2 separate regions of the Homo sapiens genome follow, and region 2 is linked to region 1. Evidence: promoter capture Hi-C in human tissues and cell types (Jung and others, 2019). All regions are on one chromosome and are shown on one strand. The core of a region is centred on a gene start or on the middle of the fragment in contact, and the rest is flanking DNA. Distances in the headings are between cores, read along the strand shown. Region 1 holds the start of VENTX (VENT homeobox). Region 2 holds the start of LINC01166 (long intergenic non-protein coding RNA 1166).

The links. The method cuts DNA at HindIII sites, captures the fragments that hold promoters and counts their contacts. A contact is called where the count stands out against the background at its distance.
Region 2: a contact is called between a fragment that was not itself captured here and the fragment with the promoter of VENTX in region 1, in 3 of the 25 tissues and cell types used here (H1 embryonic stem cells, dorsolateral prefrontal cortex and mesendoderm cells).

Annotation. Positions count from the first base shown.
Region 1 is chr10:133,234,739-133,241,496 of GRCh38, reverse strand. VENTX (VENT homeobox) reads right to left here and starts at 3,642. Exons shown (of 3, transcript NM_014468.4): 1 at 3,342-3,642; 2 at 1,661-1,821; 3 at 1-1,565. The coding sequence starts at 3,582. The coding sequence ends at 1,191. RefSeq lists enhancers at 2,855-3,458, 3,459-4,063, 4,064-4,667, 5,877-6,481. The HindIII fragment of the contact is 13,892 bases long and covers 1-6,737 here.
Region 2 is chr10:132,958,871-132,965,649 of GRCh38, reverse strand. It overlaps LINC01166 (long intergenic non-protein coding RNA 1166), which reads left to right and starts at 361. Exons shown (of 2, transcript NR_120627.1): 1 at 361-464. It overlaps LINC01167 (long intergenic non-protein coding RNA 1167), which reads left to right and starts at 3,413. Exons shown (of 2, transcript NR_125763.1): 1 at 3,413-3,891; 2 at 4,186-4,310. It overlaps LINC01168 (long intergenic non-protein coding RNA 1168), which reads right to left and starts at 116. Exons shown (of 3, transcript NR_046231.1): 1 at 1-116. RefSeq lists an enhancer at 2,920-3,815. The HindIII fragment of the contact is 3,871 bases long and covers 2,084-5,954 here.

The DNA of each region.
Region 1 (6,758 bases), core at 2,393-4,892:
GTCAGGAGTCTGCACCAAGAACGGTCCATCAACGCGGGAGTCCTCCCCGGGAGGGGCTTCCGTGCCTCCCATTCTGGGCACTTCCAGACCTTCTGCAAGAAGTGCTGTCCTTGAGTCATTGTTTTGTCCCGAGGCTGCTGCGAGCAGGGGGACAGGTGAGCACGTGTTGGAGGGTGGGGACCTGCGGGACAGCTTCAGTCCAGGCACAGCCGCAGGTCCCGGCTGCCCTGCTTTCCCTGGCCCAAGAAGAGCAGCCCTCAGCAAGCTGTGGGTACAGTCCCGGCTCACGCACAGCCTAGAGCGCACTGCAGGGCCCCAGCATCCTCGCCTTCATGTTCACCTTTGTTCCCTCCTGCTTTCCAGCTTTGGAGTTCTTGTTAAGAGGGACTTGAACCACAACGCTATAAACACACCTGCATTCCCTGTTTTCTTTTGTACACACAAAGCTTACAACCTTTACTGTTTCCAACTGGAAAACCAGTTTTTCCAACCCCTTTTAAAAAACAAATGATCCTTTTATCGTACGCCGAAAGCCCTACCCATGACAAGCCCACTTCTGCATTTGACTCTGTTCACTGACCCTTCGTTTCCTTCCTAAACCGACTCTTTCGGTAACTTTCAGTGAAGAGGTGGCTTTAATAAATATATTCTCAGGGCCGGGTGCAGTGGCTCATGCCTGTAATCCCAGCACTTTGGGAGGCCGAGGCGGGCGGATCACAGGGTCAGGAGTTTGAGACCAGCCTGGCTAACATGGTGAAACCCCATTTCTACTAAAAATAGAAAAAATTAGCCGGGCGTGGTGGCGGGTGTCTGTAATCCCAGCTACTCGGGAGGCTGAGGCTGGAGAATCGCTTGAACCCAGGAGGCGGAGGTTGCAGTGAGCCGAGATTGCGTCATTGCACTCCAGCCTGGGTGACAGAGCAACACTCCGTCTCAAAAAAAAAAAAAAAAAAAAAAATATATATATATATACACACACATATGTATATATATATTTATATATACGTATATGTGTATTTACATATATACGTACATATATATATTTATATATATTCTCCAGTAATCTCCAGAACCTTTGTGTGGGTCAGGGTGAGAGGTGCCACCAGGATGTAAACAGAACAACTGAGTCCTCCAGGTAGGAGCCAGGTGCGATCAGCAAGACCGCGAGTGTGGGAGTCAGAGGTGCCTCCTCAAAATGCATCCCCCGTCTGTGGCATAGCACACAGGCCCCGGGGCCCCGTGGACAGGGCTGGTCCCAGCGAAGGCCGGCCTGGGGTAGGGGGGTGGGACGCCAGAGGCTGCCCGCAGCAGGAAGCTCCCGCAGATGCCAGGGCCTCTTGTGCCACTTGGCAGAGACCCCAGAAGGAGCCAGGGGGCAGCATCAGAGCCTGGGGCCCGGACAGGGGTGCCCAAGGGCACAGCAGCTGCAGGCCATTGGCAAGGCCAGAAGACGTTGAGTAGAAAGCTGGGGGCGCATGGAGAGACCCCGAGAAGGGGCTGTGCAGCTGGGGGTCCTGCATTTGCCGTTTGTGTTTCATGCGGCGATTCTGAAACCAGGTTTTTATCTGTAGGAAAAGCAAGATCAGAACAGGGGTGAGACTAGGCCACCAGCCCACCCTTGCCCACCCCTGCCCACCCCAGCCTGCCCGGCCCACCTCACCTGGACCTCTGAGAGCTGCATCTCCCTGGCCAGCCTCTTCCGCTCCAGAGGGCTCAGGTACTGGTGGTGCTGGAAGACGCCCTCCAAGGTGCGGACCTGCTCCATGGTGAAGGCTGTGCGGACACGGGGGGCCCGCAAGGTATTTGGCTCCTTACTCAACCCTGACATAGAGGGTAAGGGCATTTGGCTCAACATGCCACCCCATGGGGCAAGCTCGTGCCCACGGGTAACAGGTGAAGACAGCCATGCTGGGGGCTGGGCAGGGCAGATCTTCTCACCTGACAGTGACCAGCAGCACCCCCGCCGCCTCCCAGGTCACATGCGGAAAGGGGGCTCAGAGAGGGGGCTCAAGAGGGGAGGGAATGTTAACAGCAGCTTGGGCCTGCCCTCCGCTCAGTCCACTCAGTTCCGCCCCATCCCACACTTCCCTTCCAGAAGCCGGTTCCCAGGATGCCCTTCCCACAGCCTTCCAGGCCGGTAAGGTAAGAATCCATTATATGCAAAGGCCTGGCGACCCACCCAGGGGCACCCATCCCTGTCCCGGGCTCCGTCTCCTCAGCCAGCGGAGGCCAACTCAGTTAATCCCCAGGCCCACTGTGGTCAAGTCTGTTTCCTAATTTCTAAGTTAAGGAATGGGGGCTGGCACCAAACGGCCCCACGAGGTGGTCTGTGGAGCTGGGTCTGGGTCCCAGGAAAGGCCAACGTGGCCAATCGAGCTCGACATTAAATGCAAGTCTGACCAAAATGCTCGCTGGAGTTTCTGCGGAAGGAAGCGTATTTTACAAAATCTGTCTTAACGTTAGCCTGAAAGCACATGGTAGACCCAAAAAGCAAATGCCTTCTGGCAGGGAGGGCTGTAGGACTGGCATCAGAAAGGGGGTTGCGGGACAGGGATGGCTGGCTTTTTTGGGGTGGGGCAGGATAGCTAGCTGGGGAGAATACATTTAAATTTTCATTTCCCTTAAGTACAAAGTCACTCCATAAGGATCAGTCAAATTTTTAAAAATGAAAACTTGTAGATGATGTCAACCCCACTTTTGACCAAGTACTACCTTAAACCTAAAAGTGGTGATGATGTCACAAAGACTAAAACACAAACGCAGAGAACCTTTGTTCTCAGCAGACAACAGAGCATCTGGGCGGCCACAGAGGGAACTTCAGAGTTTCTGCAGGCATCGGGGTCACCGCCACCCCTGCAGCGAACCTGCAGGCTCTTTAAAGACAGCTGTGCTCCAGGTGACCCGGAATGGGCTTGAGCCTAGACGCTGAGCAGGCACCGGCTGTGCTGGGGGGCGGGGGCGGGGGGCTTGGCAAATCATCGAGACTTTCAGTGAGCGCCCGGAATCAGGGCAGGGAGGTGCGGACGGGGACCCCTTGGACGGTCCCTCGGCACCAGGCCGGGGTGGGGGACGAAGACACAGCTGAGGAACGGGGTGACAAAAGGAGGCAGAGGAGCCCACCGGGGGCTCAAGGAGAGGAAATCCCCGTCAAGGCTTTGGTTCCGAGGGAAGCTGCGCTCCAGTGAGGGCGCCGGCAAGGCCTCCGCCGGCCCTCATGGAAACGCCCCCGGCCCTGACCTAGTGGGCAGGGCACCGCGGGGAGTGCAGCCGCCGGGCTCCTGGCCTCTCCCCCACTCCCATCTCCACCTGGGAAGGAAGGGACCCCCCCCACCCGGACCTACCGGCCATGGTCCTCTCCGGCGCAGGCAGATTTGAGGACCCGGCGGCCTCCTTGATGCTGACGGCCTGAGGGGGCTCCCGGGCGCCGGATGTCTGGCCTGGGCCAGGGAGGCTCCCCAGGGAGAAGTCGGCAGGCCTGGGGGTGTGGGTCGGCCCTGAGCAGCTGCTCTGGGAGAGCCAGTCCACGGAGCCAAAGCTGGAGAGCTGCTGCGGGCCACGAGGTGGGGAGGAGGAGAGGCGCATGGCGGCCAGGTGGGCCGGAGGGAAGGCCAGGCGGGGCTGGCCAGGCGCAGGATCCACCTCGGGCCTCGCCAGGCGGCGGCGTTTATAAGCCCAGGAGGAGGGGGCGGGAGCCCGGTTTGCATACACGGCTAATGCCCAGATAAGCAGCGCCTAATTGCCTTCGATTCAGAGGCACAAAGGAGGCCGTTCACACCTCCCCGGCTCCTCGATGTCTGGGGGAGGGGCGGGGCTGCGGGCCCTGGTTAATGGAGAGGCGATGGTTCGGGATCGGTCACCTCCTTTCATCTCTCCCAACCCCCCACCCCGCGGGCCGAGGCTGCAGGAAGGTAGGAGGGTCCCACTCCCACTTGGGCCTGTCCTGGGAGGTGCCGGGCGACCTCTCCTCTCCAGGGGGACGCTGGCGCCTGTGCCCAGCCCGGACACCCGAGGGCGAGCAGGCTTCAGGCTGGGAGAGTCAGGGCGGACTTAGGTTGGGAGCAGGCTTCGGGGTGGGAGAGTCAGGCCGGTGCCCGCGTGCGCTGCGTCCAGGCTGTGCGGCCGCGCAGGAACCGAGGGAGGCTTTCCCGGGAAAGAGACGCGGAGGACCCGGGGAGCGGCGCGCGGGGGCGGGAATGTCGGGAGGGGCCTCTCGGGGGACTCGGCCGCCTCCAGCCCTAATCCGGCTCCTCTGGGGGACTCACTCCGGGGCCATCGCAGGAGCCTCTGCATTCGGGCGCGGGCGGCTCCCTGACTCCATCCCGAGCTGGAAGGGCCGGAGCCACTGCCTCGCACGGCGGGGTAGGAACTCCGCGTCGGCGGCGGGACTGGTGCGTCCCCGCCAAGCCAGGCTGTCCCCACTGTGGCCAGGGCGCGGGCAGAGCCGCCGGTGACTGTGGCGCCCAAACCTCACGGGGACGCCCTGAGCACGGGCCCCCGGGACGGTCATAGCCACGCGCGGCCGCTGCTCCCACGAACCTGAGTCCCGAGCTGTCTGCGTCTCCGCGTCCCCGGGTCGCCTGCGCGTCGGCGTGGGGCGCGGGGACCGACGTGACCGGGTGGGAGGCAGCCATGCCGAGGGTAGGACGGTGTCTTCCGCGCACTGGCTTGGGGTCCGCACGGCGTCTCCGGCGGCCGGAGTTAGGCGGAGGCGCAGGTCCGGCCCCCGAAGCCATGCGGGGTTTCGGCGCAGACGCGGGGTCCACGGAGCAGCCCCGACTCCCGGCCAGGTCCTGACCGCGGCTGCCTCAGCGCCCACGCCGCCCGCGGAAATCAGAAAGACCGGCGGGCCTCGCCCCACGGTTACGCCCGCCCCAGCCAGCCGAGCCTCCCGGGCTGAGCAAAGAGGTTGGAGCCCGGGAGGCGGGCGCTGGGGCGGGACCTCAGCCGGGAACCGATCGGCGGCCTACCTGGGGTCACAGGAGAGGGGTCGCGGAACGGACCGTGCCGCCGCTGACCCTGGTCTTCCTCGGACCCTGCCGGCCCAGTTAGGTCACTGGGCCCTCAAGGGGGAGGCTGGCGGGGGTGGGGCGCTGGGGGCTTTGGACGTGGCCTCGGGGGTAAAGCCAGGAGGGGTGGGGGGCCAGGAAGCCGGCCTAGACCCCCGCTGCACTTCATCTCCGGAGAGACCGGGTCACCCCCGGTAGAGGGGCTTTGAGCCACTGCACAGGACCGGCAGTGTGTCCCGGCCAGGGGCAGCGAGGGCCCAGATGCCTGTGGCCACAGGGCTGGCCCCGAGGATGCCCCATGGGGCAGGTCCCCAGCACTCCCGCAGTGGGGGCGGTGCCTCAAAGTGGAGCAAGACAGCACACCTCACACATCCCGCAAAAACATACAGAACGTTCGACAGGCAGGGAAAAGGCCCAGAAGCTTCCCTTACATAAAGAGGAACACCACGAGCATGCATTTCCGAAACGCCAGCACCCAGCCTTCCATTTCTCCATTTCTAATTTCCGGGGCCCAGGGCCCCGGTGTCTCAGCCCCCTTCTGTACGTGGTTCAGCACCCCCACCCCCAGCTCTACATAGAGCCCCTCCTGCCGGTTTCCCAGCCCCCCGCCACCACCTCCACCTGAACCGCCCCCTCCGATCCCCCCAAGCCCGAAGACAACCTCACCTTCACACGGCAGGGTCAGGCAGCCCCTCTCTCCTGCCCAGCGGCCCCACCACCGTGGCTCAGGCCTCCCCGCCTCCTGCAGCCCGGGCCCCTCCCTCCACCCTCCCTCTAGAGCCCGCCGAGGCTGCTCTAGCCCAGGCTTGGGGGTCCCCAAAGCCTCCGCCTCCAAGCCTCCGTCCACCCCCGGCTCTGGGACGCGCCCTGATGCGCTGCCATGGGTAGGAGACTTGGGCGCCCCCCTGCCTCCTTCCTCCCAGCCCCTGGGGCAGCCCAGCCCCGTGAATTGCGCCCCGCACGCCCCAGAGCGTGGTCCCCGCGGGCGTCGCCCTGTCCCCCACCCTCGGGGGCCAGGCCGGGTTGCGCTGGGCAGGAAGTCCCGCGTCACTCCCAGGCCGACAGCACCGCCCCCACGCACAGCCCGGAGTCCAGCTAGTCCCCGAAACGCGCTCCCCCCGAGTCCAGGGCCTGAGGACAGACACCGGGCCCAGCGCGTGCTGCCGGCCCCGTCGCGACTCGCCCGAGCCTCCTCCGAGCACTCTGGGACCACCTGAGGGGGAGGCCAGCTACTCAGGAGGCTGAGGCAGGAGAATCTCTTGAACCTGGGAGATGGAGGTTGCAGTGAGCCGAGATCGTGCCCCTGCACTCCAGCCTGGGCGACAGAGTGAGACTCGGCTGAAAAGGCTGCACATTGTATGATTCCATTCATATGGCCCTCTAGAAAAAGCGAAACTATAGGAACAGAAAATAGATCAATGGTTGCCAGGGCTGGGAGTCAGGGAGCAGGTGACTATAAAGGGACACAAAAAAAGTTTCTTGTTGTTATGGAAATGTTCCGTAACTCAATTGTGGTTTTGGTTGCACAACTATATGTATTTTTACAAATTCGTAGAACCGTACACTACAAATGGTGAGTTTTACTGTATGTGAATTACACGTCAATTAACCAGACTTTAAAAAAAGTTTGTAGAGATTCCCCAACCCCTCCCCAACACCCACCCCTGTGGCCTCGGCCTCCCTGACATCCCACGTGCCCCCTTCCCCGACGCCCCACGATCCCCGCTCCCCAACACCTCCACGCCCCCCTCC
Region 2 (6,779 bases), core at 2,770-5,269, 280 kb after region 1:
AGAAGTAGGAATGGCGGGAAGGTAACGCTGGTGAGAAGTGGGAAAGGCGGGAAGGAAACACCATTGAGGAGAAGTGGGAACGGCAGGAAGGTAACGCCGTGAGGAGAAGTGGGAATGGCAGGAAGGTAACGCCAGTGAGGAGTGGGAACGGTGGGAAGGTGACACCGGTGAGAAGTGGGAACCGCAGGAAGGTAACGCCGTTGAGGAGAAGTGGGAACGGAGGGAAGGTAACGCCAGTGAGGAGTGGGAACGGTGGGAAGGTGACACCGGTGAGAAGTGGGAACCGCAGGAATGTAACGCCGTTGAGGAGAAGTGGGAACGGAGGGAAGGTAACGCCAGTGAGGAGTGGGAACGGTGGGAAGGTAACGCCAGTGAGGAGTGGGAACGGTGGGAAGGTGACACCGGTGAGAAGTGGGAACCGCAGGAATGTAACGCCGTTGAGGAGAAGTGGGAACGGAGGGAAGGTAACGCCAGTGAGGAGTGGGAACGGTGGGAAGGTGACACCGGTGAGAAGTGGGAACAGTTGGTGAATTCGCCTAAGGCTCTAATGGCAGTTCCTTGTCGTATTCTTGTGACTTTTACATATGTTTGACGTTGTATCAAAATGGTAAGTTGGGAAAAACCCTCAGAGCAGCTCATCCTCAGACCTGCTGAACAGTCTTCAAAGACGCCAAACGGTGGCAGCCGCGTCTTTGTGAGGCTCTTCTGGCGACGGCGCTGGCGCGGACCTGCCCCGGCAAAGTGTGCGTGTCGGGAGGCAGCACCCGCCCGCCAGGCCTGGCCACAGTGGGAGGAGGGAGGTGGCGCAGCAGCCGCTGGGCGTCCTGGGGGTGACCTGGGCTCACAGAGGGCAGGGCCTAGGGCCACGCCGATGAGCCTGTTAAAGTGCCTCACAGTGTCATTGCGACTCATAACCATTCTCACCGTTGCTTATTTTACGTGGCACTTGCTTGTGTCCACCCAAACTGCCTGACCACGAACCCAGAAACCATGAATATTTTGTCCCCGACCGTTGGCCGCGCCCTAGAACCAGGCCTGGCCCAGGCTGGGTGGGTGGGTGTGAGGGATAAGAAGAGAAATGGCAGGCAAGTCGGTTTTAACATACAGAACAGGTGGCCACGCGGGACAGACCCTAAAGCCAAGGTTCTTTCTGACCTTATCATGAGGCTGATCCTTGGAGCGCAGGGAGGCGGCCGCAGGGTGAACAGTGCCCTCTGTGTAGGCTCCGGAGCAGAATGGTCATCATGGACAGGCCGCCGGCTGCTGGGCTGTGACTGTTCTGAGGCTGAAATGGGCAAACAGCCTTGCCTCCTCTCCACCTGCAGCTGCAAGCCTGGACAGTCGAGGCACCCCGGGAACCTCCCCTACGCTCATGTCTTGCTCGTGCATTTCTGAGCTCCCCGGCAGTTCAGCCTCCCTTGTATTAAATCCTGACAGGAAGCTTGGATTAAGACCTCGGTAGTGCTAAAGCCGTTGCTCTCTGAACCCATGCTCATGGGGGATGAATCTTGTCTCCCCAAAAGATATGTTCGAGTCCTAAGCCCTGGTTCCTACAAACGTGACCAGTTTGGAAACAGGGTCTTCGCAGATGTAAAAAGTTAAGGATATCATGATGAGATCATCTTGGATTTAGTATGGGCCTGAAATCCGGTGCCTGGCATCCTTATGGGAGAAAGGAGAGGCTTGCAAAGATGGAGGTGGGGCTGGGCGATGCTGAGGACACCCGGAGTCACCAGAAGCAGAAGCGCCGAGGAGGGATCTCCCTGGAGCGAGCAGCTCTGAGGGAGCGCAGGCCTACACCTCAATCTTGGACTCTGGCTTCCGGAACCATGAGGGAACAAGTGTCTTGTTTTAAGCTGCAGCCCAGGAATCCGCCTCCCTGTGGCTCACCAGTCCCCTTGGGCACATCTTCCCTCTCCTAATGGGGTAAAATCAGGGGCAATGTGCTGTGACCTGTGGCTTTGGGGGTGCTCTCAGGAGCGGCCTGGGGCTGAGCAGGCAGGGAGCCTCTACCTGTACCTACTGTGCCTGCTCCCTGTGAGGGCTGGGATGCCCCCCCGATGCTGAGCAGGTGCCAGGAATGTTGATGGATGGATGGATGGAGAGAGGGATGTTGATGGACGGATGGATGGAGGGAGGGATGTTGATGGACGGATGGATGGAGGGAGGGATGTTGATGGACGGATGGATGGAGGGATGTTGATGGACGGATGGATGGAGGAAGGGATGTTGATGGACGGATGGATGGAGGGAGGGATGTTGATGGACAGATGGAGGGAGGGAGGAATGTTGATAGACAGATGGATGAAGGGAGGGATTTTGATGGACAGATGGAGGGAGGGAGGAATGTTGATAGACAGATGGATGGAGGGAGGGATGTTGACGGACAGATGGAGGGAGGGATGTTAATGGACTTATAGAAGGGATGAAGGGACGGCCAGTCCACCACCAAGCAAGGATGAAACCCTAGATGCAAATCAGGCTCCGAGTCAACTTATGGGAGTTCTTTGATAAAAACACATATTCATAAAATGAGTCACAAAGGCCCTTGCATTTTTCATTTTCAATCTGCATTTGTAAACATCTTTACTCAGCTTCACTTTGTACAGGGAGGTCTTCGAAATTTTAATTTCAAGCTCAAAACATGAGGGCTGTTATTCTGGCCCACTTTTTTTTTCTTGGAAAAGATAGGAAGCTCTTCGCCAAAAGAAAAATAAGTCACAAGCTTAATAAATAACGAAGCACAAAGCAAACCACTCATGCTCAATTTTTCATACTTCTATGAATATTTCAGGAAATAATAGATGGCCTTAGAAGACTATCATAAGGCTGGCAGGGACCCGGAGCTGGGGACAGCCACCTTCTTCTCTCAACCCTCTTGATGTCATTTGTGTAAAATTAATGCAGGAGTTGGTTTCATTTTCTAATTCATCGAGAAAGGATATTTCTATTCACAATGGCATCTTCCAGTTACCCATCCAAGACTTCGGTGGTGCGGGGCAGGGGAGCCCCCAGGTGGGGCTGAGCCCCGACGGTTCTTGGCTTTACCCTGGAGGGAATTCAAGGGCAAGCCGCAGGTAGAAGGAAAGAGCTTTATTCAGGCGGCCGTGCCACAGCTCACAGCTCCCTGACTGCTCCTGCAGCGGGGCCGCCCCGTAGGCAGAGAGCAGCCGCTTGGGGCAGTTTTGCAGTCACACTTATACCGCTTTTAATCGCATGCAGATTAAGGGGCGATTTATGCAGAAATTTCTAGGGAAGGGGTAGTAACTTTTGGGTCATTGAGTCATTGCCATAGAAGGGGGCGGTAACACCCGGGTGTTGCTATGGCAACGGAAAACTGACAGGCACTCGGGTGGGCGAGGCTTAGGGAAAGCTGCTTCCGCGAGCCCTGCTTTAACTAGTCAATCCGGTCCGGAGTCCAAGTACTGCCTCTGGAGTCGACTCCCACCTCAAACCTCACTCGAATGATGGCGTCCCAGTCCTCTCTCAGAAGACGTCCATCAGCAACGTGATTCTGTCCTCCCAGCCAAGCTGGCAGCTCCCGGAGCCCCTGCCCTATCGCTGGTCTCCCGGGCTGTGCAGGCCCTGCAGGGACTGTGAGCCCTCCTCACGCGGAGGAAGCAGAGGGGGCTGGACCTGCCGGCCTGGCACATGCACGTGGAGAGGCCGACTGTTGTGCACACTCACGCAGGCACACACACACTTGCTCACACACACACTGAACTCATGCTCACACATGCCTGTCAGGCTCACACTCACACTCGCTCATCCGTGCACTGACACTCATACACGGCCAGCGTCCTAAGGCGGAAGAGTGAAGGAGAAAGGCCTGCACTCCAAGGCTGGGCTGCAAGTGCAGCGGGGGTGAGGGGTGGGGGATCGCCGGAGCAGGTGTGCAGCAGGGGTGAGGGGTGGGGGATCAGGGGAGCAGGTGTGCAGCAGGGGTGAGGGGTGGGGGGTCAGGGGAGCCAGCATGTGGTAGGGGTGAGCAGGTGAGAAGTGCCGGGGAGCAGGCATGAGGTGGGGGTGAGGGGTGGGGAGCCCCCGGGAGCAGGTGTGTGGCAGGGGTTGGGGGTGAGGGGTCCTGGGAGCAGGCATGCGGCAGGGGTCACATTGAGCCGATCTTGATGTTTCTGGTTTTGCCTTTCTTAGCCCTCAGCCCCAAATTCTTGCTTACACTTCTAGAAATAAATTACAGCCAACCCGGTCAACACGTTTCCAAATTTTCCAAGACGTTTGCTGACGTCGTTAGCTGGTGACATCCTCTTCTTCACATTTTTAAAGCTTAAAAATAAAAGTCCTGGATCCAAGTCAGACGCCAGCATTTGCTGCTTCCCCTCCGTCTTCTGAGCAGATCTGAGCCTGGGGTTCCGGCTGGGTTTGTTGTTAACTCATAGATACAAAAAACGTCTCCCAGCCCTGCCTCCCTCCGCCGTCCGCCCACAGGGCCTGCAGCCTGAGGCTGGCTCCTGCCTGAGCCGCGCGCTCTCAGTGCGAGGGGCCGTGGGGGTGTCCCTCTGTGGTGTGGCTCCGGACCAGGGGCCTCTGTCACACTCTGGGGCAGCAGTGTTTGGGAAGAGCTGTCACCTGTCGAGGGAATGCCCCTCGGGATGGCACCACCCTGGTGGCTCTGACACCCACGGTGACCAGGGAGGGCTGAGGTGGGAGCGCGTTCTGGCTGAACCACGTGGGAGGCGGCATCTGGGGACGAGGCCTCGCCGTCTGTCACCAGTGACCCTTGGCCGAGCGTGAGGACGGCTGTGTCCCCAGGCTGCAGCAGCCACGCACCAGCACCACCTCCCCCGAGCCCCTCACACCCCCTGTCCACAACCCCATTCGTGGCACCCTCGTCAGTGGTGGGGCGATCGTCCCCTTGGGTCCAATCTGGACGCTGGGGCCGAGGCCACCGGACGCCAAGGCCACCCGTTGGCTCCAGGCCGGCACCTGTTCTCAGAAGAGATCTTGCCTTTGCCAAGGCTGGCCCTGGCCTCGGGCCTGAGACAAGAGCCCAAGTGGGAGTTGACTGGGGGGGGCCTGGGGGGCACCGGAGGGGTGGGGATGTCAGGAGAAAGAAGGTGATGGCCTAGGAGCCTCAGCGAGGCCTGGACAGGGGACGGGCAGAGGAGCCTCCTTAGTCCCCGTCCAGGTGAGAAAGCCGTGGCCTCCACCCAGGTGCCCACCTGCCCCGGGGGCCTGATTGTGGGTCCCCACCTGCATGCGGGGCGTCCTCTGTATGGCTGCCAGTTTGGGGCATGGCGAGGGCCCAGGGACCTGTCTGACTCGAATTCCTGGCGGGAGCCGGGTTTGAGGCACACAGGAGCCTCGGTGCTGAGTCGGGGGCAGGTCGGCCCAGGTGACATCACACCCACCCTTGTGTGAGCCGCCAGGAGGAGCCCAGGCAGGATAAGGACAAAAGGTCAACCCTGGGGCAAGGAAGCCCAGAAGGTGCCGGCATGTCTGTGCCTGGGGTGGGTCCACCCTTCCTCTCAGGGGCCGGCGATGAGTGTCCGGGAGGAGAGCCCTTGGCCTCAGCGTGCACTGACACCAAGGTGGCGGCGCCTCCTCGGCTTATTCAGACAGCAGGACGCGTCAGAGGAGAGGCTCCAGTTTGGGTTGCCTTTCAAGCAGCGACATCAGAAATGCCCCGTCTCTCCTGGTCTGAGGGATCAGGAGGGTCTAGACCAAAGGGCGGTTACCCACCCAGGACAGCCTCTGTCCCTCTGGGAAGGAGAGGTCGCCTTGGTCAGAATCCCACCCTCACCTGGCCAGCCCAAGTCTCCCCTGGGACAGGAGGAGTGGAGGCCACCCCTTTCCAGACCCTGATTGAAATACCAGCTGAGAAGGGAGACCGGCATCCCTGGAGTGTGGTGGCCCCCAGGAGAGATGCACCCAGCCAGGTGGTGAGCGGAGATGGTACTGCAGGCACACTGGGCAGGTGAGGCCCAGGAGTCCTGGTCCAGGCATGTTGCCTCCAGCGCCCACCTGTCGGTCTGTGCAGGAGGCCAGGCTGCCCTGCAGGGGGGATTGGGTGGGGAGGAGCAAAGGGAGAGGAGGGCATCGCTGTGGCCCTCGACAGCCTGGGGGTCTCCACCAGAGTTGGCGAGGCCGGTGCTCCAGGAGCGGCCGCGTCACCCCCTGCCTCCCCCTGCAGAGCTATTCTGCACCTCCTGACCCCCGAAACGTGGTGCAGAGGCTGCCGTGTGCCTCAAAGACCAGCTCCCACCTGGGAGATTCAGGTCAGACAGACCCCTGGGCCCTCGCCATGCCCGGAGCTGGTGACTGTTCAGAGAAGGTCCTACATGCAGGCGGGCCCCCTGTGCTGGCCCACAGGCTCCAGGGACCCGTGACCAGGAGATGCTGAGCTCAGCGTGTGGGGGTGTGAACATCTGTCAAGTAAGTAAAGGCACGAGGGGAAGAGGAACCCGTCAGAGGATGGGGGTCCAGGGCCAGGCAGGGGATGGCGCCACAAGGACTGAGGGAGGGAGGACGCTGGAATCCCGCTGCCGTGGGAAATTAACCTGAGCAGCTCTTCAAGAGGAGGAGACCTTGGGCCAGTGCCTGGAGAACTGGCATGGAGCCTGGGGCTGCGTTTCAGCCATGCCCTGGGCAAGGCTCAGAGCAGCTGGCTCTGCAGGGACCTTGGCCACGGCTTCCTCCTGCTGCTCCCCAGTCTCGCTGCCTCCTTCCGGAAGGTGCACAACTGACCCCCCAAAGTGCTCCCTAAAGGTGACCCTGGGCTCAGGAGCAGGAGCTCCTGGGTCCTCCCACTCGCCTTCCGA